7 separate regions of the Homo sapiens genome follow, and all the other regions are linked to region 1. Evidence: promoter capture Hi-C in 16 types of primary human blood cells and fetal thymus (Javierre and others, 2016). All regions are on one chromosome and are shown on one strand. The core of a region is centred on a gene start or on the middle of the fragment in contact, and the rest is flanking DNA. Distances in the headings are between cores, read along the strand shown.

Region 1 (2,908 bases), core at 121-2,620:
GTCATTGGATTTGAGGTCCACCCAGGTAGTCTAGGATGATTCAATCTTGAGATCCTAAAATTAATTTACACCTGCAAAGATCCTTTCTCCATTAAGGTCACATTCACAGGTGCTGCAGCACATTAGACTGTGGACATATCTTTTCTTTTTTTGGTGGAGGTGTGACTGGGGAGACACTATTAAACCCACTACAGTGTAAAAGTAGGCCAGATGTGATGGTTCACACCTGTAATCCCAAGACTTTGGGAGGCCGAGGTGGGCGGATCACTTGAGGTCAGGAGTTCGAGACCAGCCTGGCCAACATGGCGAAACCTCGTCTCTACTAAAAATACAAAAATTAGCTGGGCGTGGTGGCGCACCTGTAATCCCAGCTAGTCGGAAGGCTGAGGCAGGAGAATCACTTGAACCCAGGAGGCAGAGGTTGCAGCGAGCCGAGAGCGCGCCACTGCATTCCAGCCTGGGCGACAGAGGAAGACTCTATCTAAATATATATATATACATATACATACATATATATATATATATATATATATATATATATATATATATATATATATATATAGCCAAACTTAGCTTTATTTCAGAGCCGTTGCTGGGCCTGGGAGTGGAGAGAGATCAGGAGAGCGCCACCAGCTTGGATCGGTTAGTGAGCTGCGGTGGTTTTTGTTTTTGTTTTTTTTTTCTTGACAGTGTCTCCTATTGTTTTGTATTTCTCTTTTGTTTTGAGGTTTTCTGCCATCTTTTCTGGAAGGTGCATGATGCTCAGCTCTGTGGTTATTTTTGCCCAACAGCTGTGTTTCCGGTGAGCGGCTGTGGGATTCTTCTGACTCAGCAAAACTGGAGCAGTAACCGTCAAGAAGCCATTCAAGCAAGGCTAGAAATAAAGAAGCTGTTTCTTCACCGTCCCCTCCTCCTCCTCTCACTTCCCTCCCCATGGGTACCTTTTGAAAGTCTCACAAAGCACTTTGAAAAAACTACTTGGACCAGTATGCTGGAGGGTTGACTGAAGGTGGCCCCTCCGCTGGGCTTTAAGCAAACAGATAAATTCTGGAAAGGACTCTGCCCTGCCAGCCTGGCTGTGGCCTTCGGAAGGCCCCTCCCAACATGCCCCCACCCGCCGATCACATGGACTGTGTCTTACAAGTTTCCCACAGGTCTGACTAGTGAAAGCAGAGGCTGTGGGGACTTTTGTGGTTTTTCTAGGGTGTGGCCCCACTTTGCCTTCACCAGGCCTGAGTATCTATGCCGTGCAGCTTGCCTGCTTCTCAAAGGTCATGATTTCCACCCTGGGGCTGGGAGGCAGCTACATATTCCTACCCGCTGGCACAGGATCTGGCCCTGCACTCCCGAGAGGTGGCTGCGAGCCTTGCGGAGGCAGAGAGAGAACAAAATGGAAAGGAATCTTCCTCCCGGAGAGCCATCTTCTGTGCATGCCGGTGCCTGCAAAAGACAGGCGAGGCGAGACAGCTGCACCTCGGGCCTCGTCGCTGTTGCTGAGAAAGAAAGGAACAAATAAATTTAGCTCCATCCTACGCATCCTTTGCAGCTGCTGATTGACCAAACAGAAAGAGGCCTCTATTTCAACCCTGGCTTCTCAGCTTTTTGCCTGATGGGGTCTGCTATCGCCCTTTACAAGGGACTTTTGAAGGAGGAAACGGGCCGTGGCCTTATTTAGCGCCTGGCCGGCTGGAGGCTGCACAGACAGGAGTTCAAGTTTAGGGTGTCTCTTCTTGCCCATCCCAAAGCAAAATGGTGGCCCGGAAACGTTTCCAAATGGGCTTCGGCTCCTGGAATTTCCAATGTATTTATTTGGAAGCCAGAACATGGTGGGTGGAGAGATGTGTAACTGTGCCGAGGCCAGCCTATAGCTCCCGAAGCCATTAGTTTAATAGCACCATTTGTGGAAATAAAGAACTCGCTGACTGGGCTTGAAGGTAAAAGACTGGAACGAAGCACTGAGGGGGTTTCGTGGGGCTCACTAGCGTGGAGAGGTCCCTGCGGGATGGGGGACAAGCTGTGTGGACTTTGAGTCAGATAGACTTGGGTTCCAGTCCTAGCTCTATCACCTAAAGGCACGTTGTCTCTGGACAAAGAGAGCCTTTGCTCTGTGATATGTAAGTGAAATGCTAGCTGTGACACTGAACCTCTCTGAGCCTCAGTTCCTTATCTGTAAAACAGCAATGATGACACGAGGTCGTCACAAGGATTAAATGACAAAGAATACTGAACCTACATAGCCCAGCTCTTGCTGTGCCATGATGGTGTAGAGTGGCCCCTGTTTGACCTGCCCAGGCCCATTCTCCAAAGAAGCTGTACAGGTGAGGTGGCTCACCCCTGTAATCCCAGTACTTTGGGAGGCCGAGAAGGGAGGATCACTTGAGCCCAGGAGTTTGAGGCCAGCCTGGGCAACATAGAGAGACCCCATCTCTGCAAAAAAATAAAAAAAATTAGCTGGGTGTGGCGGTGCACGCCTGTGGTCCCAGCTACACAGGAGGCTAAGGTGGGAGGATCCCTTGAGCCCAAGAGGTCCAGGCTGCAGCCTGGGTGACAGAGCAAGACCCTGTCTCTAAAAAAAAAAAAAAAAAAAAAAAATAGAAGGTGTTTCTTCCCCAATCCTCTCCTTTCATTTCCCTCCCCGTGAGTACTATTTGGAAGTCTCACACGGCACTTTTTAAAAACCACTTTAAGTCCGGGTGCAGTGGCTCATGCCTGTAATCCCAGTACTTTGGGAGGCCAGGGTGGGTGGATTACTTGAGATCAGGAGTTCAAAACCAGCCTGGCCAACATGGTGAAGCCTCATCTCTACCAAAAATACAAAAATTAGCGGGACACGGTGGCACATGCCTGTAGTCCCAGCTACTCAGGAGGCTGAGGCAGGAGAATCGCTTGAACCCGGGAGGTGGAGGTT
Region 2 (2,908 bases), core at 209-2,708, 470 kb after region 1:
CTTTACTTCTTTTATCCTAGGGTTTCTCAGCCTTGGCACTGTTGATTCTTGGGCTGGATAATTGTGAGAGCTGTCCTGTGCATTGTAGGATTTTCAGCAGCATCCCTGATCTCTCCCTACCTGATGCCAGTCACACCCTCCTCCCTCAGTCGTGACAACCCAAAATGTCTCCAGATAGTGCCAGATTTTCCTTGGGAGGGCAAGTCACCCCTGGTTGAAAACCACTGTTTTAGCCTTCCGAGGGCTGTTGAGAGCCTGCACCATGCACATAGTGTAGGAATTGGCCAGAGATTTGGGCAGAGTTTGTGTCTTTGATTCTCTTCTTTCCAGAATTTCTATTCTCATTTTCAGCAGCTGTGGTCTCTTTAACTCAGTCCTCTGGTTCTTTGCCACTAAGAACCAAGGTCGGGTTTCTGTTAGTTTTAGCTGTTGTGGTTCAGTCTGCCCTATGCTACAAACTGTTTAAAAAGGGGGGTGGAGGGGTAGGTGGACAACTGTGATGAGAATGAGGATGATTGATTCAGTGCCATTTCCTCCTTCTGGTGGTAAACTCTTTCCCCTCCCCCAGGATCTTCCTGCATTTGGTAACTCAGGTTTTTGCAGATTTTAATATCTTCTTCATAATTTATAGTTGTTATTTAAAGGGAGTGTCATGTTGGAGTGGAAGGAACTACTTTGTACTACTGGATGGGGAACCTGATACGTATTTTAGGATGTAAAACTTGACGTTGCATACCATCCTTTGTCAAGGAGGGTACCATCTTTTAAAAAATGTATAGACATAAAAGATCTTTATTATATATTTGGAGTTAACATTTATATAAAACCTTTTCCTGATGCACTTTTAGTGCTCTATACAAATGTTTCTTAACAGCCCTTATGAACTTTTTTTTGCAGAATGAGGTAGGATGATGAGAAATGAGACAGACCAGTAAGAGGAAGGAAGGTCTGGGAGGTGACCAAACAAGGCTGAAAGGCAGATGATAGGATTGTAAGGGGAATGGAGGCGATTGAGGGATGGCTGCCTGTTTGATTCGTAGTGTGCTGTTAGTAAATGGGGTCCTTTCTTTGAAAAGTGTGATCACACTTGGTAAAATTTTCTGACTGTGGCATCTGTGTAGCAACTTGGCAGCAGGGGGAAAGCATTGTAGATTAGAGTTAGATTTCAGAACATTTCTCTTTCGACAAGAATATTCATTTCTGGAAAGATGGTTAAGAATACAGTTTCATATTTTTGCTTTTGGTTGACTTTACACTTTTTTTTCTAACATTTTTTTCCTCATTAGTTTAAGGAAACAATTTAAAATGTTAAGAAAAAGATTACATAAATTCTATTAAGCTTGAAATTACTCACTTAAGCTTGCCTTTTTTGTGATGAATTTTATGGTATTGAATAAGATAGCATAAATAAAGTAGCTAATACAGAACCTAACATCTGGTTATTGTGTAATGGTAGCTGTTTGCTATTAGTAGTGAAACTGGTGGTAGTAATATTTAGAAAAAAATAAGGAGAATTTTTTATGATGTTGGTAATTTCTTGTACTAGAGAAAGCTTGCCAATCAAATATTTGTGAATCAGTTTTTATATACACAATTTGCATTAAATAAGGTAGGTGTTTCTACTATAAATCTTTCTACATAATGGCAATATAAGAAATGTCATATCGTATACTGATTTTACCCCTAAAATAATGACATCAGCTGTTTTCTAATTTTAAAGAAGTAGTCTTACCAAATGTTTGAAATCACCATGATTTTGGTATGAATTTGAAAATATGGTGTTTACTAGCATTGTGGTTCTGTTGCTATCCTTTTATGGAGTCAAAGGAAAAAATTTTGAAAATGCATAATGTATATTATAACAATATGACTATTTGTTGTGGAGTGTTAAATGATGTTATAAAAATAAAGCTTTTAAGTATGGTTCGTAGAAATTATTAGATCTGTCTCTGAGAACCTGTTAAGTGTGGCTTGCATGCTTCATTTAGGATTTTATTAACAGTTGTATAAGATTGAAGTATAATAGCTTGATATTTATGGTTAAAGAATATCATGGGGCGGGCACAGTAGCTCACGCCTGTAATCCTAGCACTTTGGGAGGCCGAGACAGGCAGATCACTTGAGGTCGGGAGTTTGAGACCAGCCTGACCAACATGGAGAAACTCCGTCTCTACTAAAAATACAAAATTAGCTGGGCGTGGTGGTGCAAGTCTGTAATCCCAGCTAGTCAGGAGCTGAGGCAGGAGAATCGCTTGAACCCGGGAGGCGGAGGTTGCAGTGAGCTGAGATCCCACTGTTGCATTCAAGCCTGGGCAACAAGAATGAGACTCTTGTCTCAAAAAAAAAAAAAAAAGAATTATCGTGGAAAACTGCTAAATTAAAATACTACATTTTACGGAAACTGTGGAGCTGCCTCCTTGATAGAATGTTAGGTCTGTTTTTGTTGTCTTCTGCCTATGTCTCTTGACTTGTAGTTTCTTTTGTTTCAAATCACTCTGCCCTCGTATATACTTTGGTTAGACTACTTTTGGTGAAGCACTCTCCAATAGAAGAACATAATGTGGTGTCAATTGTGTAGGGATCGCCCAAGCGTTGTCTAGCATTTCTGCTCCCCAGCAGAAGCCATTTTATCCAGCCAGAGTTGTCCTTCACAGTTCTAGCATAGTCTAAACTCATTTTCTCATTGTTCATATTCTTTCTCTCCCACCCACTCTGTCTTCCCTGGCAATTCAAGTTAAATTCCATCTCTCTTCTTTGAGTTGCTCCCCTGAAGTAAGATTTCTGTTTCTTCTGGCATTTTACCTCTAAATTTATCAATAACATGTTTATTCTGCTGTTCTTAATGTCGTGTGTGTGTGTGTGTGTGTGTGTGTGTGTGTGTGAGTGATTTTAATCTTCTCTTGAATTT
Region 3 (2,908 bases), core at 213-2,712, 450 kb after region 1:
CATTAATGCTTTTGCTCGGAAATGGTATATCCCATTTCTGCTCACATTTCATTGGCCAAGACATTCAGCACCAACCTTAAAATCTAATGCATAACAAGGTATCATCTTTCAGTAGGAAGATACCCAAGGTACATGGCCAAGCTTGATATCAGTGGGACAGGAAGGGATAGCATTTATTTATATAGTATACACATTGGGATAGTATACCTTTGGGAAAAGAATATGTCTGCCATACCTATTAATTGAGTTATCTTCCCGTTCTGTTACTGTAATCTGTCTTCCAGACAGCTGGCCAGTTATGTTACTGAAACAGATATGTTTCTGAAACATACCTATGGCTATATTTATACCTGGTTTTTAAAACTTTGAGTCTTATTGGCTTCTTCTGGTACATTTTTTATTTGTAATTTGTCAGAATTTCAGTATCTGAGAGTATACATTCTGAATTTTATAGTTTTAGATCATGCAATTACACTTATTTTTCCTTGCTTTTGAAAAAGTAAATGTGCTTCCTATTTTCTTAATGATCAGTTATCTTTTTTTGTTGGAAAAATGCACAGAATGATAAAATGCGCAGAATGATAAAATGTAGTTTTTACTTATGTAGAGTCTCTGCTAGTCCCCTCTACTTCTTTCCATCCTTCCTCCCTTTCTAATAATGCACCAGTTGAGATTGTTCTTTATCAGTCCTCAATTTAGGGAAATTTTGTTAGGTATTTATGATTAACTTCTCAAAGGTTACACTTTGTGTTTTAAGTTCAGATTGCCTCACACTCCTTAGGGAAAAGTACTTTGGCTATCAATAGACGATGGGAAAAAAAATCTGCAATCATTTTTCAAGAGTTTCTTCATTTGGCATTTTTAGTATTGCAGACCTAATGGCTGTTACTTTGTTAGGATAGTTAGTATAAGTTTTCATAATATACCATATCCTTTTCACCTAACTCTATCAAAATAAAGTAAAATATTGGATGTAAAAGTTTTAAAAAGCCGGAAAATATGTGCAGTTCAAAAACTTAAAAGAGTTTTTCTTATTGCTTCAGTGATTTGTACCACATATGGGACTTAGGAAAATCTCGCTTTTCTAGCTGTGTAGAAATACTTGAAAGGTCTGACACAGTGCTGTCAAATTGGCATTATGTGCAGTAGTATACTTTAAATTTTCTTAACTTTTTAGAATAAAATATATGTTAATTTCAATAGAAAGCTCATTTTTTTCTCTGAAATGCAGATGATTGCTTTGCATACAAGAGAAGATTACTTGGGTCTTTTGAAGTTGTTTTATGCTTAATCATGTCCATACTTACTTAGGGAGACTTTAATCTGTGGGTATCTGACATTTGTAAAACATAATGGCTCTTCAGAGCAGTCAGCTGGTGCTGCTGTACTAATGGATTGTTAGCATATTTACCCCATGGTAGTTTATAACACAGCTGTAAAATTGCCTTTGGCCCAGAGCTGCTCTGTTTGCCAAGATTCAGTGTTTAGAGTTAAGATATTTTACTTGGAATATACAGTGAAAATAATGTGGGGAAAATTGAAATTATAATTATGATAACAATAGCATTATATTTGTCTATTCCTATCTTTCAATGTGTTGTGATATTGTAATAGAGGTGATGCAATAGAGGTGATTATCAAAGGGCAAATGAGGCCGGACACATGGCTCACACCTGTAGTCCCAGCACTTTGGGAGGCCGAGACAGGTGGATCACCTGAGGTCAGGAGTTTGAGACCACCCTGACCAACATGATGAAACTCTGACTCTACTAAAAATGCAAAATTAGACAGGTGTGGTTGCACATGCCTGTAATCCCAGCTACTTGGGAGACTGAGGCAGGAGAATCACTTGAACCTGGGAGGCGGAGGTTGCAGTGAGCCAAGACCGTGCCATTGCACTCCAGTCTGGGCGACAAGAGTGAAACTCCGTCTCAAAAAAAAAAAAAAAAAAAAAAAAAAAAGAGCAATGTCCTTGGATGTGGTGGTGAAGGGATTTCAGAATAACATACTCACTGGAGCATGGTGGGATGTACCGCCCTAGTTGAAGAAATCGTGATGTAACATTGACAGTCGTTGGGTATAATGTGATAACAGGAGCAAGAAATGAGTAATCAATAAATACCAATTTTATTGAAATAACAGTGTTTATTTCTCTAAAGAAAGTAGGAGAATGAGTCTTTAGACTTAAGGAGCATATACTTTAATGAAAGAGACAGTACAGATATCGTAGAACAAGTGACTGAAAGCACATGTCTATTTGTAAATGTCTAGAAAGAAACATTCACCCTGAGACTAATCAGTCTGTGTAGCTATTTAGTGAATATTTTTCAGTCAAGGGAAGGAATTAAGACTTTAAATTTAAAAAACAAAATTGATCTGGGAGCAGCGGCTTGTGCCTCTAAGCCCAGCTACTCAGGAGGCTGAGTCAGGAGGATTGCTTGAGGCCAGGAGTTTGAGACCAGGCTGGGCAACAAAGCGAGACCCCCATCTCTAAATAAAAATAAAAGTAAATTAAAACTAAAGAAATAAAAAATAAAGATTAGCTGATTGTGGTGACATGTGCACTTGTAGTCCCAGCTATTTGTGGGGCCAAGGCAGGAGGATGGCTTCAGCCCAGGAGTTTGAGGCTGTAGTGAGCTCTGATCTGCCACAGCACTCCAGCCTGGGCAACAGAGTGAGACTCTGTCTCTAAACATAAATAAATAAGTACATAATTTTATTTGGTAGTTGGAGAATGAGATTAGACATTAAAAGTTTAAAACTAGAGGAGAGATAAAGCTTTTGGAATTACATTAGAATGGACATTTCAGGTGAGGCCAGGCCTGTAAAAGAGGCTAACCGGACAGGCATGTTAGAGAGGATGGGATTAATAGGGCTTGCTTGGCAAGAGGAGACTGTATCCACTAGG
Region 4 (2,908 bases), core at 184-2,683, 430 kb after region 1:
GAAAGTCCTTTTTGGCCTTTTGTCAAGCTTGACTTGCTCATTTCTAAAACAGCCTTTCAGTTTATGATACCGTTACCTTTTCATTAATATTTTTGGAAAAACTAGACATGTTGTCAGAGATGCTTATTTTTCTTGAATGAGGTTTTAGGGTATCAGCTTTTCTTTCCCCTCCTAGCGGGTGGCTGTGGGGAATTCTTGGTCAGATTGTCATAGAAAATGAGCAGTGGAAAATTGAAGCTGCACAATCTGGAGAGTTTTATTTTTAAAATAGTCATTCTTAACCTGAACTAAAGTAAAGCAAGTATAAAACATTTTTATGTTATTCCAGTGTGGCCAAGATTTTTTTTCTTAAATTTATACAAGTATGATCACTTTCAAAGGAGAGTATGATTTTCATAGTTAATCAAAAATGTTTAGGCAGTTTTTTGTGAGTTTAAGAAACCTGTTGGTTTCCTGGAAAGTCATGAATGTTTATGATATCAAGGGTCTGTTATAGAGCCTCTGAGATCTTTTAGACAAAAGCATTGATGCTGTTCTTAATGGCACTTTGAAGTTTTGGTGACTACTCTTGAGGTAAATGGATATGTGCTGATCATTTCATTCTTTCTTTCTTTCTTTCTTTCTTTTTTTTTTTTTTGAGACTGAGTCTCACTCTGTTGCCCAGGCTGGAGTGCCGTGGCACGATCTCGGCTCACTACAACCTCCACCTCCCTGTTTCAAGTGATTCTCCTGCCTCAGCCTCCAGAGTAGCTGAGACTACAGGCACGCGCCACCATGTACAGCTAATTTTTGTATTTTTAGTAGAGATGGGGTTTCACTATGTTGGCCAGGCTGGTCTCGAACTCCTGACCTTGGGTGATCCGCCCACCTTGGCCTCCCAGAGTGCTGGGATTACAGGCGTGAGCCACCGTGCCCGGCCTGTGCTGATCATTTCTATCTTGTGAATAGTCTTATTTATACAGAGCTGCTCCCTTGCCAAGGCGTAATGTCTGGTTTGGGTAGGCAAAAATCCACTCCCAAATTAGTGTCTGTGTGTTATATGTCTTTGATTTAATTTACGTTCACCTCCAAAGGGGCAAAATGGCTAGAGAAAAAATAAACAGGACAGTGTATGACTAATTGAAAGTTAAAAAGGGCCTTGCTTTTTCTAGACTGAAGGATACAAAATGAATACGAATAGTGAATAGTTGTCTAGCTGATTTAAAAGAGCCATTGTATTTCAGTTTCTTCTCTCTTCACCTTCATTTTAATAACTCTCCTGAAAATGGGATTTTTAGTAATCTGTCTCAGAGTATAATATTTGGGTTATCCTCAAATAGATGATAAATATTTTTATCCACCTGCCTCGGCCTCCCAAAGTGCTGGGATTACAGGCATGAGCCACCATGCCCAGCCTTGAGTTATACTTTATTAAAAATAATTCTGTTTTAAAAATTGGTGAGAAACAATCACAAAAATATGGTGTATGAATAAGCCAGAGATACTTGAGAATAATTATATGGAAGCTGATTTTCCAGGAAGAAAATAATATAAAATTACTAAAACGTCCACAAAAATGCTGCTACAGCATTTTTCCACTTTTATTTTTTTTTGCATTATGTTCCCCCTCATTCTTCAAGGGAAAATAAAAGATTCCTCAACCTTTGTAGATGTGGCTTATGATAAATACTGTAGGGACCTTAGCTCATTGTACCTAATAGAATGGAACATGGAACACATATGCCCTATTCTTGTTTACATGCACTTACATCAATATGTAATATGAATTTAATTTAATATCACTCCATAACTGTGTAACTTTATTTTGTTATTTCAGATATAATGAACACGACTGATAGGACATTGTAAATTTATAGTGATTAAGAGCTATCATCTGTAGTAATAGCCTATAGAGTTGATAAGTAGAATGAATTATGCATAGGAAAGAGAATAAAGAGTTAATTCCATTTCTAAATGTTTCTTATTGGGATAGAAGTTTTATAAGTTAAAGTTGCCTGATTTTAAAACATTAAACTCTTAGGAGACCCACTTCATGACAGTAACTACTTTACATTGTGAGTTTATTGTGGTATTTTAATTTATTTTCTTGTTTTTTTTTTTCCTCAAGAATACCCTTCATTAGTCATTCTAATCTTGTTGATTATCAAGGGTTCAAGTAAGAGCCTTCAATTGTCAGTAGGAAGAAAAGCTAAGCCTTTTATAAACGTGTCTGTTTGGCTATTTTGCGTAGTATAAAAATCCTTAGAATCATATTAGGTTGCATTTTGCTCCACTTTGAATGTTTTCCTCAGGGTCACAATGTTTTTCTCTGTGGAAGGTTCTTTGCAGTATAGTAAGCACACAAGGATTGACATTGCCCTTGTACATATCGTGCTGACATTCTTCTTTGTGGGTGAGAAGACAAGTAGTAAATGAATAATTTCTTACAGTTGTCTGCTACAAAGCAATAGATGAGAAAGTGACTGACTGGGACAGGACTACTTTCCATTAGAGGGTCAGGTAGGGAATGCCGCTTGGAGGAGACAGCCAGATACAGGAAAAGGAAGTCAGATGTCTTGAGCTCACTTTGTTGGAAAAAAGAAGGCCAGTGCTGTTGAAATGAGTACACAGAGGGTGTTGGAAGAGGTAGACAGAGGTTTGATCAGGTGGAGCCTTGTAGGCCATGGTAAGGAGCTTATTAAATAGATTATTAATTCCATGAGAAGCCATTAAAATAAGGCTTTAAGAGGCAGGATGCTACGATGTGACTTAAGGTTTGAAAAAGATTACTTTGGCTCTCATGAATAATGGACTTCAGGTGCTTTGAGTGAAAGCAGGGAGACTAGTTTAAAAAGCTTTGCTTCTTGATGAAGCTGGATTGTAAAAGAAACGGGATGACAATTTCTGTACTTTACAAAGTGTTAGTATA
Region 5 (2,908 bases), core at 304-2,803, 410 kb after region 1:
CCTCCTGGGTTCAAGCAATTTTTGTGCCTCAGCCTCCCAAGAAGCTGGGATTATAGGTGTGGACCACCATGCTCAACTAAGTTTTGTGTTTTTTAGTAGAGATGGGGGTTTCCTCACGTTGGCCAGGCTGGTCTCGAATTCCTGGCCTCAAGCAGTCCCCCCTGCCTTCGTCTCCCAAAGTGCTGGGATTACAAGCGTGAGTCACCATGGTTGGCTATTTAGGGAATTTAATCAAGATTTAAAGCAGGGTGTCCAATCTTTCGGTTTCCCTAGGCCATGCTGAAAGAAGAATTGTCTTGGGCCACATATAACATACACGAACACTAAGGATAACTGATGAGCTTTAAAAAAAAAAAAGGAAAAAACAAAAAACAAACTCAGCTGGGTGCGGTGGCTCACGCCTGTAATCCCAGCACTTTGGGAGGCTGAGGCTGGCAGATCACAAGGTCAGGAGATCGAGACCATCTTGGCCAACATGGTGAAAGCCCATCTCTACTAAAACATAAAAATTAGCTGGGCATGGTGGCACACACCTGTAGTCCCAGCTACTTGGGAGGCTGAGGCAGGAGAATCGCTTGAACCCAGGAGGTGGAGGTTGCAGTGAACCGAGATTGCGCCACTGCATTCCAGCCTGGTGACAGAGCGAGACTCCATCTCAAAAAAACCAACAAAAACAAAAAAATCTCAAAATAGCTCATAATGTTTTAAGAAAGTTTACAAATTTGTGTTGGGCTGCAGTCAAAGCCGTTCTGGGCCTCATGCGGCCCGCGGGCTGTGGGTTCAACAAGCTTGATTTAAAGTCTGTTTGCTAGTGAATTTTAAAAACTTTTTGGGGTCACAAATAGAAAAGAATTTGGTTTATTTGGTTTATTTATTGCAGAGAACCTGGAACATACGATTAAAGCATGCCTCTATGTGTGGGGATTTTTTTTTAAACTTCATGAGGCTTAGACTAAAAATGTGCTTGAGGCCAGGCACAGTGGCTGTCACCTAGATTTAGTTCCAGCGCTTGGGGAGACCAAGGCAGGAGAATTGCTTGAGGCCAGGAGTTCAAGACCAGCCAAGGCTACTTAGCAAGACTCTACAAAAATTTAAAATAAATAAATAAATAAATAAATAAATAAATAAATAAATAAATAGAGTTGAGTGTGGTGCATGTGCCTGTAGTCCTAGCTCCTTGGAGGCTGAGGTGGGAGGATCACTTGCACCCAGGAGTTTGAGGCTGTAGTGAGCTATGATCGCACCACTGCACTCCAGCCTGAATGACAGAGTGAGACCTTGTCTCAAAGAGAAAAGAAAAAAAAGCGCTTGAAGCAACTGCTGAGGAACTGTATGCCATTTATTTTAACAACTGTATAGAAGCAGGAAAGCCTAGAATTTTAGTACTGGAAGGTACTTTTTAGATGAGCTAGGCCAAGCATCCGCCTCCCCTGGGCTCGGTTCCAGAATACCTGTTCTAGGTTGCTTTTCAGCCTGTGATGAGGAAATCTTTGTATGCACACCATGGAGTCCTTTTCTTAAGGATATGTAGTGATGTGCATAGAGATTGAGTATCAGGATTCCTTGTTAAGGATTTCCATCTGCCATTTAGGATTATTATTGGTTTGGTTGACATTGGCATTGCCTTATCAAACAATAGATGGTAGGTGGAAGTTTCGCTACCCTGTTTGGTATGAGGCAGATATTAATTTGTTGTTCTGAAGAAGGTGATGTTGGATAAGCCAGTTTTATTTAAATGGCCATATGAAGAAAATAGGATCATAATGTGAAGTCAGTGTACTGACAACAGAGTATGTGCGTATTTTGTGAGATGCACAGATACACGTAATTACCTTATAAGTGGTATGGGATGAATTAAGTGGAGCAACCATGGGACAGAAACAGTACAAGTGATGCAGTGAAGTGCAACTTGAAGCGGTGTTGTAGCATAAATTTTGATTATTAGATAGCAGATAAGTTAAATTCCTTAGATACGGTAATGTACAGCAGCCAGAGAGAGGTTATTTCATGTTGCTAATTGCATATCAGATTCAGTGCCCAGATGACTTACCTTTTGGGAAAACAAAACCCACTCACTTTTATGGAACATATTCTCTGCCAGAGACACTATTTTAAGCACCTTTACGTGTTATCTCAGTTAATCTTTAAAAATGTTTGCATAAAGTAGTTGGAGTTTCAGAAAATGTACTCTGAATTCATAGTAAAAACTACAGTAGGTCAGCTATTAGTTGTATTAGCCACATTGATTAACCACAAACATGCAGAACTTATATTGAGCATGCTTTGAGCCAAGATTTTATGTTTTGGGGTAAGCTTTTTCTTTAGGGAATTTTTTTGTGAGGAAATAGATTTGGGACAAAGATTCTCAGACCAAACTCAGTTTTGGAATCACCCAGAATTTCAGAAATGGGATCTCAGTTCACTATCAGGGTCGAACTGTTGGGAGCTGGGCCCTTTGGGACAGTGAAGGACAAGAGATGGGGGAAATTTGAGGAGTAGTTGGGCACCACCCTTACTTCTCATCCAAAATTAGGATGTGGACTTTATCGGTGATGGCTGAGTTTCATTTAGTAATGAGGAAAGGTTTTTGTGAAACATTCTTTTAAATGGAATCACATGAGTTAATGGTGTGAGTATTTCAGGGCTGTGAGTTAAGCTGTTGGGGCAGTGAAATAGCAGGAATTTCTCAGCTCAGTCAGAATCCTTTCTTGTGTGCTGTGTATGGAACACAGGGGCAAAGGAAAGGCCAAGCAAAGAGAAACTGCCTGTGTGCCTGTTCTGTGGCTCTGGGTAATCACCTGGCTTCTATTAAGTTCTGTAGTATTGGTGAAATAATTGGGGATTTAAAGGAGGTGAACCAGTGTGTGGTCTCTTTTAGCCAATCCATAACCTTTAAGGTACAAGTTGC
Region 6 (2,908 bases), core at 191-2,690, 400 kb after region 1:
CTCCTGCAGCTGCAGCAGCCTCTGTTTCAGTTAAATAAATAAACAAAATGTGTTTCTTTTTTGTATTTTGTTATTATGTTCCTAAGTCTCCTTTTTTGTTGTTGGTTTTTTTCTTTCATACTTACAAGATTTTGGTTGAGGAAGTTGAATTGTTGATAGGTGGGGTCACCTCATGAGTTAATTATTTGAGATTGTTTAAATACATTTTTATATCTGTCTCTGAAATAACAAAAGTGAAGCTTTGTGGTAAGAAACTATTCAGTTTTTTTATTTGATATGCACTTTCATGTGTCTTGGTGCATAGTGCTGATGGGAAAAGAATGAAATATATGATGAAATACTGTGCTTGAAGAGCAGCAAGCATTGAACCCAGTCATAGCTCGTGAACTTGTGAATGGACCTGTTTCTTTTTAAGTATGTGAAAATTTCTGGGAAATATTCTGATGAATTTTACATAGGTCATCTCTTACTATTGAACTTAAAATATTTCCCTTTTTCTCCCAAGAAGAACATTTTCAGTTTTACTTCTTTTGTCCTGTGCTGCCTTCAGTGAATGAAGAAAATTACTGCTTTATTCATTTGATATTATGGCATTGAAGTATACCATTATTGTGAATTTGATTTCTCTAGTATAGGCTTAGCAATTTGAAGATATTACTGGGAGATTGGCTTATATTAGGAAATAGTCTCCTTTATAAAAAAATTCAAAAACGCAATTTCAGCTTAATTCATCTCTAAGCAGTTATTATGTATGATATGTGTACTTCTCTATTTAGAAGGGCTTTACTATGAATTTTTGTAAATACCCTTTTCAATACACTTAAAAATTCTTCACCTTGGCCAGGCACAGTGTAATCCCAGCACTTTGGGAGGCCGAGGCAGGTGGATCATGAGGTCAGGAATTCGAGACCAGCCTGACCAACATGGTGAAACCCTGTCTCTACTAAAAGTACAAAAATTAGCTGGGTGTGGTGGTGCACACCTGTAATCCCAGCTACTCAGGAGGCTGAGGCAGGAGAATCACTTGAATCTGGGAGGCAGAGGTTGCAGTGAGCCGAGATCGCACCATTGCCCTCCAGCGTGGGTGACAGAGCAAGACTCTGTCTTAAAAAAAAAAAAAAAAAAAATTCTTCACCTATAAACAGTGCAATTATTCATGAATTTTTATTATATAAAGATATATATTTAATGTCATATACTTGATAGGGCTTTTTAACTAATAAGGATGATAGTGCAATTAGCTTATTGATTTGTAAATACCTGCCTCTGGTGTCTTCTATCATACCTAAACCTTTGTTTTGATTCATGAATATATTAGGCAGTTTTGTTTGTATTTTGTAACTATTTGAGAAGAAATAGTTTAAGCAAAAGTAATCTTCAGTCTTGCCATTGTCCCAAGTCATAAAAAATTCTGAAATAATTGTATTTTGCATTAAAAATGTCTTTATTTAAACTCGGCATGGTGGCCTGAGTTGTAGTCCCAGCTACTCTCAAGACTGAGGTGGAAGGATCACTTGAGCCCAGGAGTTTGAATCTAGTCTGGCCTAGACAATATAACAAGACCTTGTCTCTTTATTTATTTTTTATCTTTATTTTTAAAAGTCTTGATTTAATAAGACTTCAATGATCAGTTCAACTTGAATTTTTACCATTTAAAATGTTAAGACGTAGTAAAAGAGAAAAATAGAAAAAGTCACTTGACATAAAAGTATAACTTACGAGGAATTGTATATACAAATTAGTGGTCAAGATAACAGATTGATCATATTATTTTCCAAATAGGTTTATTTGGAGATATGTGAATTTTATTGTTTCTGAAGTAATTTTATAGTTACTGTCTAGTACTTAATTCTTCTCAAAACATTGATTAAATAATTTCTAGGTTAAGTTGGAAACATGTGATAACATTAAAAAATTTAAAATGTCTTTGGGCCTGAAAGATTATGCCTTTACATTCAACATGAAATCCATGGATGGAGTTTATATAAATAACCATGTAGGCTTACCAATCCTTAACCCTCTTGTATTAGTCCATACTCACATGGATATTTCCATATCCACTTTTACTCTTGTGTCAAAAGACAAAATTAAAACTCATTTAGTTATGTATCTAATTGGCTTTTATTCTCGATTCATGAATCGGTGCAGCCTCCATTCTAATAGAATCACAGCTTCTACTGGGCAATGGCAGACTATTGGGTTTTGTGAGGTGGGAATGAGGAAACATAACAATGGGGAAAATAAGCTGATTAGTTAACAATAGATTACTTCAGTTTACTTTTTTTTTATAAGGGTTAAAGCAGAGGGGACTTTCTTGTTCTGACTCAGGTAGGCTAGAATCTCCTGTTTTTAGGAAAAACTCGTCTGTTTTGGGATCTATCTGCTTTCTTACAGTTGCAGTTTGATTATATGACATTTGGCATGAGTGACTCCACTTTGTTAACACTTGAAAGGTTATTATTCCCATATGGAGTATTCACATGGATGTAGCCATTGTCAGTTATACAAGATCGTGTTTCTTTTCTTTGCCCCCCTGCCCCCGTCACCTAAGAACTTGTTAGATATTCCATTTCTTTTTTTAAAAAAAGATACAGTGAGTAAAGGTGATAGAGAGCATATGGATAAATAGTGAAGAAGCTTGATGAGGGGAGTGGTTAGGTTAGAAACACAAGGGAATTTACTCAGGTTAAAACACTGTCATTTTATATTCAAGCCAATATATATTTGTTTTGTTAGCGTTGACGTAATTTTTTTCTGGGAAGGCTTTCCTGACCTCTGGTTTGAGTAAGCAGCTCCTCCTATGTGTTTTAGTCAGCACTCTTGGCTTAATCCATAGTAACTTTTGCTTGTTTGCATTGTAGTTGGTTATATCTGTCTCCTATAGCTTGTGGGCTCACTTTGACGGGGA
Region 7 (2,908 bases), core at 242-2,741, 370 kb after region 1:
CTAGGATTATAGTTCTTAGAACTGATACCAAAAGTACAATCCATAAAAAGATAAGTTGGACTTTATCAAAATTTAAAGCTTTTGTTCTGCAAGAAACCCCTGTGGGAGGAAGAAAAGATAGGCTACAGAATGGGAAAAAATATTTGCAGACCGCATGTCTGACAGAGAGCTAGTACTTGTATATATAGAGATTTCTCAACGCAAAGTATTAAAAAAAAATCCAACTAGTCCAATTAGAAGATGGGCAAAAGATACGAAGAGATATGTACACATGGCAAGTAAGCATATAAAAAGATGTTCAGCATCATTAGTTTTTACCAAAATTGCCATTTAAAACTACAGTGAACTATCATTACACACCTGACAGAATGACTAAAATGAAAAATTAGTGACAACACCAAATGCTGGAGAGGATGTTGCTGGAGGGTGTATAAAAACTGTTTGGAGTTTCTTAAAAAACAAAACATGCCAACTATCATTTAGCAGTTGTATTCCTGGATATTTATCCCAGAGAAGTGAAAACGTATGTTTGTGCAGAAACCTATACGTAATGTTTATAGCAGCTTTATTTGTAAAAGCCTAAACTGGAAACAGCCCAGGTCTCCTTCAGCAGATGAAAGGTTAAACTGTATATCCATACAATATAATACTACTGGGTAACAAAAGGAACAAAGTCTTGATATACAGTAACCTGGATAAATCTCCAGAAAATGATGCTGAGTGGAAAGTAAAATCTCAAAGGTTATATAGTGTATGATTCCATTTATGTAACGTTCTTGAAATGACAAAGATACAGCAAAATTAGTAGTTGTCGGGGTTTAGGAGGGGTGGAAGTGGGAGGAAAGTTGGTGAAACTATAAAAGGGGAACATGAGGCATCCTTGTGATGGAAATAGTCTGTATCTTGACCATATCAGTGTCAATATGCTGGTTGTGATGTTGTACTACGGTTTTGGAAGAGTTAGCATTGGGAAAACTGGGTTAAGGGTACACTGAATCTTTTGGTATTATTTCTGACAGTTGCATGTGAATCTCTGACTATCTCACACAAACTAAAACTTAATTGAAAATTAATGTAAGTGAATTACTTTTCCCCTTACTAGCTAGGGACTCATTTGCCGTTTTACCTAGCTTGTTGGCATTTGTATATATTGCTGGGTATATAAAATTTGAACTGAGATCACTCTGTTTCTGTGACTGTTTTCATTCTTTGTAAGTTGTTGAAAATTGAGGATCTTCAATGTATCCTTTAATTTTGGTGTAGATTTCTTTCCCTGTACTTTTTTACATGAATACTTATGCTCAAACTATTCAAAAACATGGTTTTAGAAATGTAAAATTGGTTTTGTTAGCCATAATATAGTTAACTTATTCCTTTATGTTTATAATTTCTTTTCAGGATTAATAATAGCAGCTGTGACATGACAGTGATTTTTTTTTTTAATAATTTGTTAATTATGTTATGTAAAATGTAATACTGGTGAGGAGCCAGTAATGTTGCACAGATTATCGTAGTCCTGAAAAACCACAAATAAATCCAATGAATGAGTGAGAAAAGTGACACTGTTGTTGGCACTCTGAAATTCTGCAGGGACTTACATTGTGGCTAAAATCAACCCTACCTTCTTGCTGTGTTCAAGAGGCTTTTCACTGATTTCTGTTGACAGGAAAAGCCTTTTTTTTTTTTTTTAACTTATAAAAGAAAAAGAAAAAAAGCAGTACCCTCCAGGCCCTGTGTATTATTAAGATCTTTTAGTAGCGAGTTGCTCTTTCTCTGGGAAATCGGCTGTTAAAGTCAGAGGGAGCTCTTAATAGTTTGCATGGTATTTGATTAAATGGAACAGTTGGATCAGTACAGATTCCAGATTTAATAGAGCAGATACTCACTTCTATACATCCCCTATGATTAGCATAGTTATATCTTCTATATTATAGAAATATAATTTTAGGATATACTCTTGTACATTATAAAATAAGCATGTTAGAGAAAACCTGATAAATTGAACTTTTGCAGAGAAAGACTTAAAAGCATATGACTAAAATATAACTTCTACATAAAACAATATGTGTCCAGCATTGTGGGATAGTTTATAGTTCTGAGGTGATCTATTAAACCATGATACTGGAAGAAATGACAATGATAGACACTGACATAGGAGCATTATTTGTGTGTCAGGCTTTGTTTAAAGCACTTTTTATGTATGAACTCATTTTATCATTACTGTGAGGTAGGGACTATACTATGATTTCCTGCTGATTGACAGGAAACTGAAGCATGGAGAGGTCAAGTAGTCTCTCAAACCAAAGAACACGTAAGTGAGAGAGGAGGGGCTCTGGCTCCATAGTCCTTGGTCTTAACCACTATTTTGTATTGACTTCCATAGAGAAAATAGCCCACATTATAGCTATGATAAAATGCAAAATTTCACTTTATAGGTAATAGCCTGGAATCGGTGAGCTGGAGTCATTAAGGCAGTTCGGCAAAAACAAAAAACATGGGGGCAAGTGTGGGTAGGAAAGTGCTAGCTGCCTGAGTACAAAGCATTGGGTATTAATAAACATGCTGTGTGCGGCATAGCAGGAAGCAGCTGTTTGGAGTTGAAGGTTTGTTTGGGAGAGCAGTAGAAAAGATGGGTTTGATTAGTTATAGAAAGAATTTTGAATGGAAAAGTGTGGACTTGGGAACACATTTTCTAGGTTGCTGTTGAGAGGAACAACAGTGGTACATTAAATATGGACTTTTAGAACTAGAGGAAATTATAAAAGTTATTATTGGATCTGTGCTCTTCAGTGTTTCTGTGTCTACCCTGTTTTGTGTTTTAGGTTTTGACCTTTTGCTCCAGCTTGTCCAGGGACAGAGTGGTGTAGTGAAACAAAAGCAGTAAACCAAGTATCACAAAGCTTGGACT

What was found. Contacts are between HindIII fragments. The CHiCAGO score rates a contact against its expected background, and 5 or more counts as called.
Region 2: a contact is called between a fragment that was not itself captured here and the fragment with the promoter of MAP1LC3B2 in region 1, in 9 of 17 cell types (naive B cells, total B cells, fetal thymus and 6 more). The highest score is 8.9, in naive B cells.
Region 3: a fragment that was not itself captured here is called in contact with the fragment with the promoter of MAP1LC3B2 in region 1 in 6 of 17 cell types (naive CD8 T cells, erythroblasts, M2 macrophages and 3 more); the score reaches 7.2 in naive CD8 T cells.
Region 4: a fragment that was not itself captured here is called in contact with the fragment with the promoter of MAP1LC3B2 in region 1 in 3 of 17 cell types (neutrophils, M0 macrophages and M2 macrophages); the score reaches 8.0 in neutrophils.
Region 5: a fragment that was not itself captured here is called in contact with the fragment with the promoter of MAP1LC3B2 in region 1 in 14 of 17 cell types (naive B cells, megakaryocytes, non-activated CD4 T cells and 11 more); the score reaches 13.7 in naive B cells.
Region 6: a fragment that was not itself captured here is called in contact with the fragment with the promoter of MAP1LC3B2 in region 1 in 9 of 17 cell types (total B cells, naive CD4 T cells, monocytes and 6 more); the score reaches 9.3 in total B cells.
Region 7: a contact is called between a fragment that was not itself captured here and the fragment with the promoter of MAP1LC3B2 in region 1, in 3 of 17 cell types (monocytes, total B cells and neutrophils). The highest score is 6.8, in monocytes.

The regions. Positions count from the first base shown.
Region 1 is chr12:116,557,843-116,560,750 of GRCh38, reverse strand. MAP1LC3B2 (microtubule associated protein 1 light chain 3 beta 2) reads right to left here and starts at 1,370. Exons shown (of 2, transcript NM_001085481.3): 1 at 1,318-1,370. RefSeq lists enhancers at 777-876, 917-966, 1,187-1,526, 1,366-1,875. The HindIII fragment of the contact is 18,876 bases long and covers 1-2,908 here.
Region 2 is chr12:116,085,729-116,088,636 of GRCh38, reverse strand. All of the region lies in intron 4 of MED13L (mediator complex subunit 13L), which reads left to right. Among named protein-coding and RNA genes, the nearest start is that of MIR620, 61 kb to the left of the region's middle. The HindIII fragment of the contact is 193 bases long and covers 1,362-1,554 here.
Region 3 is chr12:116,103,053-116,105,960 of GRCh38, reverse strand. All of the region lies in intron 3 of MED13L (mediator complex subunit 13L), which reads left to right. Among named protein-coding and RNA genes, the nearest start is that of MIR620, 44 kb to the left of the region's middle. The HindIII fragment of the contact is 2,637 bases long and covers 144-2,780 here.
Region 4 is chr12:116,127,638-116,130,545 of GRCh38, reverse strand. All of the region lies in intron 2 of MED13L (mediator complex subunit 13L), which reads left to right. Among named protein-coding and RNA genes, the nearest start is that of MIR620, 20 kb to the left of the region's middle. RefSeq lists a silencer at 1-42. The HindIII fragment of the contact is 2,807 bases long and covers 30-2,836 here.
Region 5 is chr12:116,143,891-116,146,798 of GRCh38, reverse strand. The region is part of intron 2 of MED13L (mediator complex subunit 13L); the gene reads left to right. Among named protein-coding and RNA genes, the nearest start is that of MIR620, 3.3 kb to the left of the region's middle. The HindIII fragment of the contact is 1,525 bases long and covers 791-2,315 here.
Region 6 is chr12:116,161,582-116,164,489 of GRCh38, reverse strand. The region is part of intron 2 of MED13L (mediator complex subunit 13L); the gene reads left to right. Among named protein-coding and RNA genes, the nearest start is that of MIR620, 14 kb to the right of the region's middle. The HindIII fragment of the contact is 2,398 bases long and covers 242-2,639 here.
Region 7 is chr12:116,186,664-116,189,571 of GRCh38, reverse strand. The region is part of intron 2 of MED13L (mediator complex subunit 13L); the gene reads left to right. Among named protein-coding and RNA genes, the nearest start is that of MIR620, 39 kb to the right of the region's middle. The HindIII fragment of the contact is 2,822 bases long and covers 81-2,902 here.